4 separate regions of the Homo sapiens genome follow, and regions 1, 2 and 4 are each linked to region 3. Evidence: promoter capture Hi-C in 16 types of primary human blood cells and fetal thymus (Javierre and others, 2016). All regions are on one chromosome and are shown on one strand. Each heading gives the region's core, a stretch centred on a gene start or on the middle of the fragment in contact. The rest is flanking DNA. Distances are from core to core; before and after follow the strand shown.

Region 1 (3,228 bases), core at 598-3,097, 460 kb before region 3:
AAAGTTACCAACGCACTCTTTAACCTGATTGGCTACAGGAAGCTAGTCACTGATTGACTTGTTCCACAAGGCGATGATTCTTACATAACTTATAATTAACCAGTCTTCAACAGTGTTCACCCCATAAGGGACCTGAATTGGTCCCTCATAAGAGGTCTTTGCACATTTTGCAAATGCAGTTTGAATTGGATGTCAAGGAGTCCAGGTGTGCCACGGCAAGTGCCTCCAAAGCTAAAAGAAGAAATGTTCTTTGAAGCCCATGGAATTCCAAGCACAGGTGGAGTCTTCTCAAAGTCAATGAATGAAAAAAATATCAGGACGAGCCACAATATTGTCTTCTCAGCAGACAGGACTCTCGCCAGCAAATGTTCTGCTGTATTCATAATGGATGCCTTAGCCCCCACTGCAATTAGGGAGGGGGGGAAACCAAAGGGACAAGGAGAGTGAATGACTCTGAGAAATGGCTTTGTGGTCTCCTAACTTCATGACAATGATTCTTATACTCGAAACTCCCTCTGTGCTCACTGCTCACTGTGATGCCTTTTTTTAGTCCTGACATCCATCCATATTTTCAGGTTTCTTGGTTGACATGTCCCTGGCAGAGAGAAAGAAAATGATTCCAGCCAAAGCTGTGGGCCACACATTAGTCTCGGCCAAGTTTTCATCCCTTATGCCCAACATGGACAGAAGACAGCCTGGCACCTTTGCAAGCAAGTCCAGATTAGAGGAACGGCCAACCCCAAGGCTGACCTTTTGCCACATAGGAGCAAGGGACAAGGAGAATGGTATGAAGAAGCATAGCCGGAATGGTCAGTGACTTCAATCCTAATCTTTAACACTTTAACAGTTCATGAATGATAACATTGCAGACAGAAGCAAAAGAACATTTTTCTCTCCACCTTGTTGGCCAAACTTACAAGACTTTCATTCAAATATATACCTCTAAGGCTGGATTCTGAGTTTTTGTTTGAGAAAAATACTGTACACTGTTTTAGGGCAGATTTTCAAGGTGCTATTGTTGTTAAAAACAAAACAAAACAAAAAAAATTCTCAGTTTCTGTCTTTCAAGAACATCAGCACTATTTCTTCATGTGCAGGGCATCCTGGAACTTGGTGCTGGTGTATCGGGCATGAAAGCCTTTCTTGTTGATGGTGTCATCTGTGCGGAATCGAATCATCAGGGAATCACCTGCAGAGTAGATTTCTTCTAATGGCTGAGGAAAGGAGAAAGGGAAACGAGAAGGACTTTAGCTGTGATTGGAGTTGAAAATGAGGAGGATGGGACAGGATCTTATGCAAGGACACAGGATGTGTCTCTGGTACCAGAGACTCTGAAGGGCATCCAAACAAGCTCCTTTTCAAAAGAAAACATTGCAAATTCTGCTCCAGGGAGCTTTGCAGGCCCTGCTCTTCCAAAGATGATCCTAGGTGCATAGCTCATATAGAATCTATTATTTATTAAGTATGCAGGTGGGTCAGGTGCTGCACTAGGCAATTCCAGATCTTATGTAAACTTTACAGCAACCTTATAAGGCAGGTACTATCCCCATTTTTCACTTCAGGAAACTGAGACTCAAGTTCTCGCAGGTAGGCGGGACCCAAGCTTAGGTCCTTCTGACAGTAAAGGATGCACCATGAATCACCGAGCTCCAGGGTCACCATTATGATGTGTCTCCCAGGAGACCTGAAACAAAGACCATGGTTCAGGCCTCTGTCTCATCCAAGGACAAAAAAATGGGATGGAGCCACTATATTGGTCAGAAAGGTTTTGCCAGGTGGTCTGTGAATGGGAGCCACGTTCCAAGGCTGTTGCCTGCGAGGTTCTAGTGGAGCCAAAGTGGGCTTCCCCCACAGTTAACTGCTCAGTTAACCCCTCCAAGGGGTTCCTTTCCACAGACCTCATAGTTTGAAAGATTTTATCAAAGGCAGTGCATTGGTTAAGTGCCACTTTGTCATTCTTCCTTTTTTAGAGGGTGAAAGAAGATGAAGGGAATTATTCAAAGAAATATAAATGCCAATTTGAGTTTCCGTTTAGCACAAGGACCACTGGTGACTCAAAAATGATGTGCTATAAGTCCAGCCAATAGCAAAGAAGCTTGAGCGACCGGGCCTCCAGGCAACAGAAAGGAGGGGGCTGGTGCCCAGTATGGGCAGTGTCCAGTGCGGTGCAGCCAGGGGAGTGACTGGGACACTGTACTGGCCAATGCGCAAACTCCCACCAAGCACCAACTATATGCCAAGCCCAGTGTCAGGTGCTGGAGAAACAGCAAACACAATAGGCCCACTAAAGAAATCAATAATGAGAACATTGATAATGACCTTGAGCACAACTATTGTGTGTATAGTAAGTGACTTGTAATTTTCAGAGCATTTGGTTTTGCTTGAGGAGAGAAATGTGAATATAAGAAATATATAAAAGCATAATTAAATATTTTTAAAGCCTGAAGGCCAAATAAAAATGGAGGAGAGTGGCTGCGCATGGTGGCTCACGCCTGTAGTCCCAGCACTTTGGAAGGACGAGGCAGGTGGATCACTTGAGGTCAGGAGTTCAAGACCAGCCTGACCAACATGGTGAAACCCCGTCTCTACTGAAAATACAAAAATTAGGTGGGTGTGGTGGCGCATGTCTGTAATCCCAGCTACTTGGGAGGCTGAGGCAGGAGAATCGCATGAACTCAGGAGGCAGAGGTTGCAGTGAGCCGAGATCCAGCCTGGGCGACAGAGCAAGACTCCGTCTCGGGGGAAAAAAAAGAAAAAAAAAAAAAAGGAGGGGAGAGGGAAAGCCTTTGCAAAAATAGGTGAAAGTCCCAAAAGGAAAAGTGCTCTTCCATGGCTGGCCTCAGTAAGGGGCCTTCAAGGACTGGTCCCTGGCTGCCTCCCAACCTCCTCTCCTGACGGTTCTCCTGCTTCCCACTCCGCTTCTGCAGAACGTGCCTCCTCGCCGTTGCTCCTAAGTGGAGTAGGTGGCCGGGACTGAAAGCCGGGCGTGTCTGACTCCACAACTCCTGCTGTGAATCATCACACTCTGCCCCGGCCCCAGCGTCTCCGGGACTTACCCCAGAGCCACAGAAGCGGCCGAGCCTGGGCGCTGAGCTGTCGTAGCCGTCGTAGGCTTCCATGTAGTCGTAGCCGCAGTCGGCCTCCTCCTCAACCTCAAAGGTCCGGAATGTCAGCTCCACGCCGTAGCCGTCCTCTGCCACGATCACCCAGTCACAGCGGGCCTCGCTC
Region 2 (3,406 bases), core at 616-3,115, 310 kb before region 3:
TGAAAAATGAAGTACTGAAGGCATATAAACCCATTAAAGAATAAATGCTGGGACATTGCCAGAACAGCAGGGAACTGTAAATGTGCCAAGGTTTTCAGGCAGCAAGATGAAATTTCAGCAGGAAAAGCACTCAAAAAATTTAGCTAGATTCATTCCATTTTCTTTGTAAATGTCAAGATGTTACCTCTCTGGGTCTTCCTAAGATCACATATAGAAAAAGTCAAGTCAAGAAAAATTTTTTTAACTCTCTGCATAATCGATTCTATACCTCACTGAATGCTGGTGATAATCAAGAAAAATCTCAGATAAAATAAAGAGGAGTCCAGTGAACAATACTCTGAAGAAAGGATGGCAAATAATAAGGAACCTTCTGACTGTCCAAGAATAGGGATGTTTCCACCTGACACAATGTAGTTTTAACCTTCAGTCCCTCTCATCTTTCTCTCAAAGTTGGTTACTAATTATCACAGGGAATGGCTATCACAGCAGCTATAAATAAAACATGTGACTATAACATAGAGAATGATCTTTCCTTGTGGAATGTTTCATTCACTACTTTACGGACAATCTCATTTGTGTGTGCGCACACACATGATCACATACATAGTGTATATGAACTGAACAGGCTCTTTTGATGGAGAAACAAAGCAATCTTGGTACCCCAAAGGTGTCCATAAATGTCATACCAAGACTTAGCTTTTAATAAGATTACCATATCTTATATATATCTTATATAGCCAAAGGTGGAATTATCAAATACACACATACATACATAAATAGCCAATGGCAAGTAACAGAAAAAGGAGGAAAATTATCCACTCTCTGGAAATGTTTCCACCATGATTAGTCCCGCAGCCTTACATCATTCCTACAAAGTAACCAAGGGATCAGTCTCATTTATCAAGTAAAACACATCATTCCTACAAAGTAATTAAGGGACCAGTCTCATTTATCAAGTAAAACACTGAGCCCAAAAAAAAGTGAGTTACTTGTATGAGTTTCCCTTAAGTTACCTCTGCCAGAACTTAGAGTCATAAAGTTGTTCTGAGATGAAAACACAAGGTGTAGAATCCCACAGAGACTGTGCAGAAACACAGACACAATTCCAGAGCAGAAGGAAGCCCAAGGACTTTCAGCCTTCATCAATAGCAGCAGCAGCTACCCCTCACTGAGCATCTACCAGCCACGTGATGTTTATCCACATTTAATCACTGAATCCTCTTTATAGCCCTATGAGGTAGGTATTATTTCTATTTTGCAAATGAGTAAAGTTGAGGAAGAAAGGTTAAATAATTTGGCCAGAGTAACATGGCTATTAAGTGGGGAGTTCACACCCAGAACAGACTGACCCCAAAAGGCCAGCTCTTTCCATATCTCACCATGTAAATGGCTATCGTTACTACCTAATAACAGTCCCAACACTACACTTGGTGCTTTACACACATGACACTATTCCTCACAACCACTCTGAAAGATATGCCCATTTTACAGATAAAAATGAGACTTAGAAAGGTTAATGTGACCTCCATGGCCATAAAAAAAGCTGAGCAACAGCATGGACATTTATTCCAGTGCTTTCAGGCTCTCATGCTTATGCCTTTCCCATTTATCATACTGTTTCCAAAAGTTCTTTATTTTCTAGCTATTTCACACATTCTAGAGATTCTATCACATGGTGAAAACTATTACCTCTTCCTTTTAATAGATGATTATGATAGATCCATAAATAGTGGTTTTATCCCCACTTTACAGAAGCTTAGAGAGCTTGGGGAACTAGATCAAGGTGGAAAGCATACATATGGTACAGCTAGAACTTAAGTCCAGTCTGTAGATACCCAAGTATGCAATCATAACAAGTAAACTGTGCTGTCTCCTAGGTGTCTCCTGGTTTCTCCAAGAATACTCTGAGAAGTTTCCAAACAGGAATCATTCAGGCAACACCTTAACATGCCTACATCATGATCTTCCATTGAACCTAAGCTTTAAAAAATGCCAATTCTCAAGCCAGGCACAGTGGCATGTGCCTGTAGTCCCAGCTAGTTAAGAAGCTGAGTCTCTAAAAACAATAAATAAAATGAAAAAGCCAATTCTCAACATGAATGAAAAACTGTGATATGAAATTCTGTGCTATACAGAATTACTAGAATTTCTATAAAAATAGAAATTAATAAGGTAATAAATTATGTTGTGGGGAAGAGTCAAAAGGACTGAAATCAGACTCGGGTTTATTTTGGTGTTTCTGATCAAACAACAGATAAAATTTCTTAATTTCCAATTACTGTATTTTTCGGATTTAGAGAAACTCAGATTTACTCATGATGTTCAAAGAATTTCAAAACTTACCACACATTATCCCCAAGGCTGTGCTAAATACCGCCATATATCCAAAGTAAAATGATGTTTGAAATAAGCCATACATCCTGAAATAAAACAAAATATATATAGGATATCCAGTTTTACTTTCAACTTAAGGCCTTAAATATTAGTATTTAAAGGACAAATTTAGTTTCCTAAATAAAAGGTAAAAAAATGTCTCCACTTACTTTGTTTTGAAAAAATAGTAGTAAAAGGAATACATGTAAACATAGATTGCAGTTGATGCAGCAGAGAGAAAACTTGTCCATTGCCTGGTGGGGGGAGGGGGAAAGAAGATAAATCTCTTTTGAATGAATGGCACTAAAACAAAGATTTTAAAGCAAAGAATTTAATAAAACATCCTTTAAAGTCCTTTAAAACTTATTTAAAAAACAAATGCATAGACATGGTATTCAAATTTATCAACAAGGAAAACATCTAAGAATTAGAAAGCTCAATCTTGAATTTTGTCAGATTCCCTATTACCAGTGACCATAAATACACCATTTCCTTTTTCATATCTAAGTTTCCTTGTGTTTAGAATGGAGCAATGCTTCTCATAAAACTCTTTTCATATCAAGCACTTTGTAAAAAATATTTCTAACACAGTACTCCATTAATACATTAAAAATTTGATATTTTTTCTCTAAAATATGTATCATTTTTATAACTGGAAAAAAATCCCTATGCTATTTTAAGTAACAACATTTCTATACAGCTCTTTACTCCACTTGATAGATTTCAAAGGAAATCTTATTTTAAAATATTATGGTTCCCCAAATTTCTATCCACAAATAGGTACTTACCACCGGTAATCTTCTGCATTTAGTAGAAAATATGTGCACACAATAGTCACACAGACAGTCACAATGCACAGGATAACCAGCACCAGCATCATGAAGCCATAGACATAATAGATCTTATATGCCCAGAAAGACGTGAAGATGAAATACCTAAGTAAATGCAATAAAGACACAGGTTTCCAGTCTTTATTCTTAAAGCTCACTCTGCTCTTCGTGAGTCTCACATTTTAGTTCTCATTTTTTTCTCA
Region 3 (3,410 bases), core at 855-3,354:
AAACAATGATAAACATATAATAGGTGCTCAATGAATATTAGCTGTTACTATTGCCTCCCTATCCTTTCTTCCAAATAGGTCTTTGTGATAGGTCAACCATGAGTTAGTTCCCAACTCAAAATAAGTGAAGCAGAAATTGGAACTCAGAGTAGAGTAGTAAAACTAGCATTAAATTGGAAATTGGGAAACTTGTCTCCTGGCTTTTGTTGCCCTTTCTCTACCCAGCAACTATGTAATCTTGGTCAAATCACCTTACTTGTCTGGGCTTCCAATTTCATATCTTAAGTTACAAAATTGATCTCTGAAGCCTCTAGGATTCTCTGAATCCATATGTCTGGGACTAAGAGATTATGTCGAGGAATTATTACCCTTGGTTTGATTGTTTTTTAAACAAATTAACTTGGGGTGGTTGGAAAACACATTGATTATTTACTCATCTTAGAGTTACACGTTGTTCATTTATTTGAAACTGAAACGTATTTCCTCCAAACACCGTAGAAACTTAAAGGCCGCAAAAGACTCACACCCACCACCTAGCGGCGAAAAAAGGAAGTTTCAGGTGATACAAGATGTCCTGCCATCACACCTGAAGGATGGTTGTCCACAGCCATTTTTTAAAATCTCGTATTAGTCCTCTTCCTTCAACACTCAGGACAGTATTATGTACCCAGAAACTCAATACTTCCTGGCGTCTTCATTTGACAATACTCTTAAGCCAATGAAATCCTGTGGGACGTTTGCGAATTTTATAAAGATCAATGTTTTAAGATTGGCGGGGTGGGCTGGGAGTGGTGGGGGGGAAGGTGCCTTCCTACCCTTGCATTTGCATCTCAAGCCACCCGTACCCGAGGCCCACCCAGTCCATCTGTTCATTGGTAGATACACCATTCCGCCATTCCGCCAGTGGCTGGTGCAGAGAACCAGGACCACCACCTTTGAAAAGACCTAAATCAATACTCCAATGGGATCCTGATGTCAAGTATTTAACGACTTTGCTTTACCTACTACAGTAATTAAAATTAAGTCTTCAAACTTAAATTTAAATTTCTAAAAGCAGGAATGCACTGTCCTTAATCTTAAACACCAAAGGTGGGAGAAAGAGGCCAGAATCCTAGGGTACTAGGCCTACTGGTATAGGGCGATCTCTTCTGCTTTTTTCTTTCCACCCCATTTCTTTTCCCTTTCTCCTTTCGTTTCCCATCTTCTCTCTTCTCGTTCTCTTCGAAGTAACAGTGACAAAATTAAGGTGATTCAATTATTCCAAGAGGCTTGCTCATATAAAATATTTCTCTTCAAGCCCTTTCCTGAAATCCCAAATTAAAGCATTTCCAATAGTCTCTGCTTTAAGTATTCCTAGTTAAGTCTACTTTTGGAAATATTAAATATTCTCACTTTGGCACAATATTCCAAAATTCCTTGAGAAGTTCGCCTACGATCAGTCTTGCTAGTAGAAACCTTTTTTTTTTTTTATTTAAAACGCTCGATTTCCACTTTTTACTAGGTTTCCCAATGTTGGCGATGTCTCCCAATGACTTAATAACGTGTATCCACTTCACCTTTGAAAATCTTAGAGGTCAGTGCATCCACCGGCATCCGGGAATTTATTCTTATTTCTGCTTCTTAAACAGGCTCTGGGGAGGAGCAGTTTCGACGGAGAAGTTCATAGCAGCAGTTATTACGGAACTTGCAACAGTTGGTGCCGGGCGATAGGCAGGTTGGAAGTGATAAATGGGGCTGGCGTAAAAAACAAAAAGCCCCGGGGAGGGCGGGGGCAGCCGTGGCCTTGGGGGACAGTGCGAAGGCGGCGCGGGGCCAGCGGGACTGACTTCCGGCTGTGGGAAGGCGCCGTCCCGGGCGGCCAGAGGCGGCGGCAGCCGCGTAGAAGGACGGCGGGATCGCAGCCCGGCGGGCGGCGCGCGGGGCGGGTGAGCGGGCCCAGGCCGCCCCCGGGCCACGCCGGGGCCACGGTGAGGTGAGGCCGGCCCTGCCCCCGCACCGCCCCCGGCAGGAGGCGCGACGCCCGGGCCGCGGGTGCGTGCGCGGCCCCGGGCGACGCGGCTGGGCGTGCGCGGGGCCGCGGCGGAGGCTGGGCCGGGCGGGCGGCAGAAGATGGCGAGGGTGTGTAGGCGGCAGCAATGCTCCGTTGAGAGACGCGGCTTTCGGCAAGAACTGGATTCGTGGCGCCACAAGCTCATTCACTGTGTAGGTGAGACCCTCCGCCGACCGCCGCCGCCCCTCCGGCCGCCCCGCCGCCGGTCGCCCCAGACCAGGGAGGAAGCTGGGGAAGTGGCAATTGCTGCTCCGGCCCGCCCGCCCTCTTTGGCTCGAGCGTCCCCCCTTCCCCCACCCCCCGGAGTGTGAGCGCGCGCGACCTCCAGGCGGGCTCCCCTGCTCGGCCGAGCGCGCGCCGGCCCCTCCCCTCCGCGCGCCTCCCCGGGGCTGGCTCTCGGCGGGAGCGCGGGTTCCTCCCCCTCCCGCTCTCCATCCCCGCCTGCTCGCTCCCCTCCCTCCCCGCTCCCGCCCCTGCTCCCGCTCCAGGCCCGGCGCCCCGGCGCCGCCGCCGGCTTATTGTGGCGACTCGCCTCGCGGCGCTGCCGCTGTACTGGGGGAGGCGCGAGGGGCGCGGGCGTGCTCGGCCCCCACCCGCGCTGTGGCCGCCGCCGTCCTCCTCCTGCGCCACCCCTCCCCCACGCGCGGGGCGCGCCCCCGGGTCTGCGTGCACGCGCGGCGGGCTGCAGGCGGGCGCCCGGCGCTCGGGCGTGTGCGAAGCGTGAGGTGGAGATGGGGGCGGAGGGAGCTGGAGCTGTCACAGTCCCCGGGTGCGCCTGACCGAGCCAAGTGGGGTGTCATGGCCGCGGGGGGCAGCGGCTGCACTTCCTCAGCGGGCGGCGGTGGCCGGGGAGTTAATCCTCGACGCACGGGTCGGTGTGTGCGTATTTGTGTTCGGTGTCGTGCTGCGGGAGGAGGGGGTGGGACCGGGTCCGACCGAGGAGCCCCGGCGGGGGTCGCTCTCGTCCCCTCCCGGGGATTGGCCGGAGCCGCAGCCTCGCCCGAATGCCCCGTCCGCCCCCCGCCTCCCGGACCTTGGGCCGCCCTCGGGTGGCTTTTTCCCTGCGGGCCGGAGGGAGCGCGGACGGGGGCGCCCCGGGAGGGGCCGGGCGGCCGAGCTGCGCCTCTCACACTGTGTGTTTTGTCTGTTTTTCTCTCCCAAGGTCCCGTTTCCCTCTGTGCGGCGGCCGGCGGGACCATAAGGGCTTAACTCATATATTTAACCCCCCTCCAAAAAGTAAGTGGCCCGTGTGGTGTCTCCGCTCCGCCCGCCGCCCCCTAGCCCCAGTCCATCCTTGTGTCTGACTCTCCTGTCCTCCAGCATTGTTACTTCCCCGTCTTTGCTTCGGTGCTGCTGGTGT
Region 4 (3,111 bases), core at 207-2,706, 490 kb after region 3:
CACTCCAGCCTGGGTGACAGAGTGAAATTCTGTCAAAGAAAGAAAAGAAAGAGAAAGAAAAGGAAGAAAGGAAGGAAGGAAGCGTATCTCCATTTTCATCCAAACAGGTATTTTTCTCTGCTACTACGTACCTCCTCAGAGCCCATCCCCCCTACTGGTCTGAGGCTTTTTTTTAAACAACTTTCTGGACATAGCCCCTCTTAAGACTAACAACCTATAGCCAGGCGTGGTGGCTCACGCTTGTAATCCCAGGATTTTGGGAGGCCGAGGCAGGTGGATCACCTGAGGTCGGGAGTACCAGACCAGCCTGACCAATATGGAGAAACCCCATCTCTGCTAAAAACACAAAATTAGGCTGGGCATGGCGGCGCATGCCTGTAATCCCAGCAACTCGGGAGGCTGAGGCAGGAGAACTGCTTGAACCCAGGAGGCGGAAGTTGTGGTGAGCGGAGATTGCGCCATTGTACTCCAGCCTGGGCAACAAGAGCGAAACTCTGTCTCAAAAAAACAAAACAAAACAAAAAGAGTAGCAACCTAGGCCGGGCGCAGTGGCTCACGCCTGTAATCCCAGCACTTTGGGAGGCTGAGGCGGGTGGATCACCTGAGGTCAGGAGTTCGAGACCAGCCTGGCCAACATGGTGAAACCCCGTCTCTACTAAAAATACAAAAATTAGCCGGGCGTGGTGGTGGGCGCCTGTAATCCCAGCTACTCGGAAGGCTGAGGCAGGAGAATTGCTTAAACGCAGGAGGCGGAGGTTGTAGTGAGTGGAGATCGAGCCACTGCACTCCAGCCTGGGCGATAGAGCGAGACTCCGTCTCAAAAAAACAAACAAACAAATAAACAAAAAGACTAGCAACCTCCTCTCCAGCAATGCCAACCCCAGTCCAGGCCCCCATCCGCCCAGGATCTCGATCAAAAAACATTAATCTGTGGCCTTTCTTTGCCATTTCCAACTCTGCCACCTCCATCGAACGACAAGGTCCCCTTCTTCCTTTCCATTCCCGTCAGCTTCATTTCCCTAATCTCCGTACAAATCCCTAGCCTGACTCCCTTTCCTTTCCATCCTCACCAGACGCCCGCATGCCGGACCTCAAAAGCGCAAACGCTAAAAACCGGTTGAGTTGACGCACGGAGAGAAGGGGTGTGTGGGTGGGTGGGTGTGTGTTAGTGTGCGTGCTTGCTTGTGTGTGGAAGAAACCAACAGGGTTCACGCTGGTGCCCATTTCTGGAAATGCCAATCGCGCCCGACTGCGGGAGCCAGGATCAGGTCCCCAGGGCGCCCTTGCAGACAGCACCCTGAGCGAAGGAGCTCAGAAGGCAGTCCGGCTTCACCCAGACCCCCAATCCCACAGAAGCGCCGTCCCCCAGCGGCACAGCACCCCCTCCCCGGCGCGGTGGTAGGGCCCGACGTGACGTCACCCATTGTTTACAAATCAACCCGAGCCGGCAGGATTCCGGCTCCCGCGGCTGCAGGCGCGCGGCTAGAGTGCCTGGCGGGCTCCGGCTTCCGCGTCCGCCCCGGCCCCGGTCCAGACTTAGTCTTCAGCTCCGCGCCCGCTCCGCCGCGGCCCACCGCGCCCGCCGGCAGCCGAGCCCCCAGCGACGCCCGCACAGCTCCGGGTGCCCAGACAGGGGGCCATGCCGTGCCGGAGGGAGGAGGAAGAGGAAGCCGGCGAGGAGGCGGAGGGGGAGGAAGAGGAGGAGGACAGCTTCCTCCTACTGCAGCAGTCAGTGGCGCTGGGCAGCTCGGGCGAGGTGGACCGGCTGGTGGCCCAGATCGGCGAGACGCTGCAGCTGGACGCGGCGCAGCACAGCCCGGCCTCGCCGTGCGGGCCCCCGGGGGCGCCGCTGCGGGCCCCGGGGCCCCTGGCTGCGGCGGTGCCGGCGGACAAGGCCAGGTCCCCGGCGGTGCCGCTGCTGCTGCCGCCCGCGTTGGCGGAGACTGTGGGCCCGGCGCCCCCTGGGGTCCTGCGCTGCGCCCTGGGGGACCGCGGCCGCGTGCGGGGCCGCGCTGCGCCCTACTGCGTGGCCGAGCTCGCCACAGGCCCCAGCGCGCTGTCCCCACTGCCCCCTCAGGCCGACCTTGATGGGCCTCCGGGAGCTGGCAAGCAGGGCATCCCGCAGCCGCTGTCGGGTCCGTGCCGGCGAGGATGGCTCCGGGGCGCCGCCGCCTCCCGCCGCCTGCAGCAGCGACGCGGGTCCCAACCAGAAACCCGCACAGGCGACGACGACCCGCACCGGCTTCTGCAGCAGCTAGTGCTCTCTGGAAACCTCATCAAGGAGGCCGTGCGAAGGCTTCATTCGCGACGGCTGCAGTTACGTGCAAAGCTTCCCCAACGCCCGCTCCTGGGACCTCTGTCGGCCCCGGTGCATGAACCCCCTTCGCCTCGCAGCCCTCGCGCGGCCTGCAGTGACCCTGGCGCCTCCGGGAGGGCGCAGCTCAGAACTGGCGACGGCGTTCTTGTGCCTGGCAGCTAACACGCCCGGGGTGGCCACAGCGCCAGCCTCAGACTGGAGGGCAAGGGGTTCCCTTGAGGGCTGCAGTTCTACTCAGGCTGGTGGAGAACTCTGGCTTTTGGAAGCGAGAGTAAAAAGCTAATGACGAGGAACCGAAAAATCGCGAGTGTTTCGCGGGTAACTGGGGTTGAGGGCCAAAATATTTGGAATGAAGGACTTTGGCCCTATTTAAGGCAGATTTTACAGAGCGCACCTCAAACGTACAAGTCAGTAGGACTCCTTATTTGGCGTGACCCGACCTGGCCGCGGAGCCTGCATTTCCTCGCAGCCTCTCAGTGCCCTCCAGCCCCGCGACCATGTGGCCACAATCCACGCTTCTCCGGATCGCGGTGCGCCGGAACCACGGAGGATGATGCCAGTTACTTGCTTTACCTTTTCAGGGCTGGCTCCTGATCCACTTTGGGGGAGGAGAACATGAGTAGATAATTTCAGGGTGCAGCCCAATCTGCCAGACTTAAAAAAACCATCTTGTGTCTTTGGAGGTGCTGCTTAATACCAAACATGCGGTGCCATGAAGGGACCCTTTGGGGGTTGAATAGGAGTTAACCCCTGCGCTCTCTTTGCAACTGTCTCTCTTCTCAGAGTGGTGGGGG

What was found. Contacts are between HindIII fragments. The CHiCAGO score rates a contact against its expected background, and 5 or more counts as called.
Region 1: a contact is called between a fragment that was not itself captured here and the fragment with the promoter of LCOR in region 3, in 1 of 17 cell types (endothelial precursors). The highest score is 6.0, in endothelial precursors.
Region 2: a contact is called between a fragment that was not itself captured here and the fragment with the promoter of LCOR in region 3, in 2 of 17 cell types (total CD8 T cells and naive CD4 T cells). The highest score is 5.7, in total CD8 T cells.
Region 4: the fragment with the promoter of FRAT1 here is called in contact with the fragment with the promoter of LCOR in region 3 in 1 of 17 cell types (fetal thymus); the score reaches 8.9 in fetal thymus.

What each region holds. Positions count from the first base shown.
Region 1 is chr10:96,367,009-96,370,236 of GRCh38, forward strand. TLL2 (tolloid like 2) reads right to left here. Exons shown (of 21, transcript NM_012465.4): 20 at 3,057-3,228; 21 at 1-1,214. The coding sequence ends at 1,080. Among named protein-coding and RNA genes, the nearest start is that of OPALIN, 9.6 kb to the left of the region's middle. The HindIII fragment of the contact is 492 bases long and covers 1,602-2,093 here.
Region 2 is chr10:96,524,870-96,528,275 of GRCh38, forward strand. TM9SF3 (transmembrane 9 superfamily member 3) reads right to left here. Exons shown (of 15, transcript NM_020123.4): 12 at 3,162-3,308; 13 at 2,544-2,627; 14 at 2,344-2,420. Among named protein-coding and RNA genes, the nearest start is that of TLL2, 13 kb to the left of the region's middle. The HindIII fragment of the contact is 225 bases long and covers 1,754-1,978 here.
Region 3 is chr10:96,830,194-96,833,603 of GRCh38, forward strand. It overlaps LCOR (ligand dependent nuclear receptor corepressor), which reads left to right and starts at 2,105. Exons shown (of 8, transcript NM_001346516.2): 1 at 2,105-2,206; 2 at 3,213-3,286. It overlaps LOC102723665 (a long non-coding RNA gene), which reads right to left and starts at 2,265. Exons shown (of 1, transcript NR_135921.1): 1 at 439-2,265. RefSeq lists a cis regulatory region at 453-652, silencers at 1,688-1,987, 2,008-2,057, 2,068-2,787, 2,828-2,887, 2,928-3,167 and enhancers at 1,914-2,628, 2,629-3,344, 3,345-3,410. The HindIII fragment of the contact is 14,888 bases long and covers 1-3,410 here.
Region 4 is chr10:97,317,815-97,320,925 of GRCh38, forward strand. FRAT1 (FRAT regulator of Wnt signaling pathway 1) reads left to right here and starts at 1,457. Exons shown (of 1, transcript NM_005479.4): 1 at 1,457-3,111. The coding sequence starts at 1,640. The coding sequence ends at 2,479. RefSeq lists enhancers at 771-1,560, 1,298-1,592, 2,682-2,841 and silencers at 1,432-1,741, 2,242-2,341. The HindIII fragment of the contact is 4,234 bases long and covers 1-2,327 here.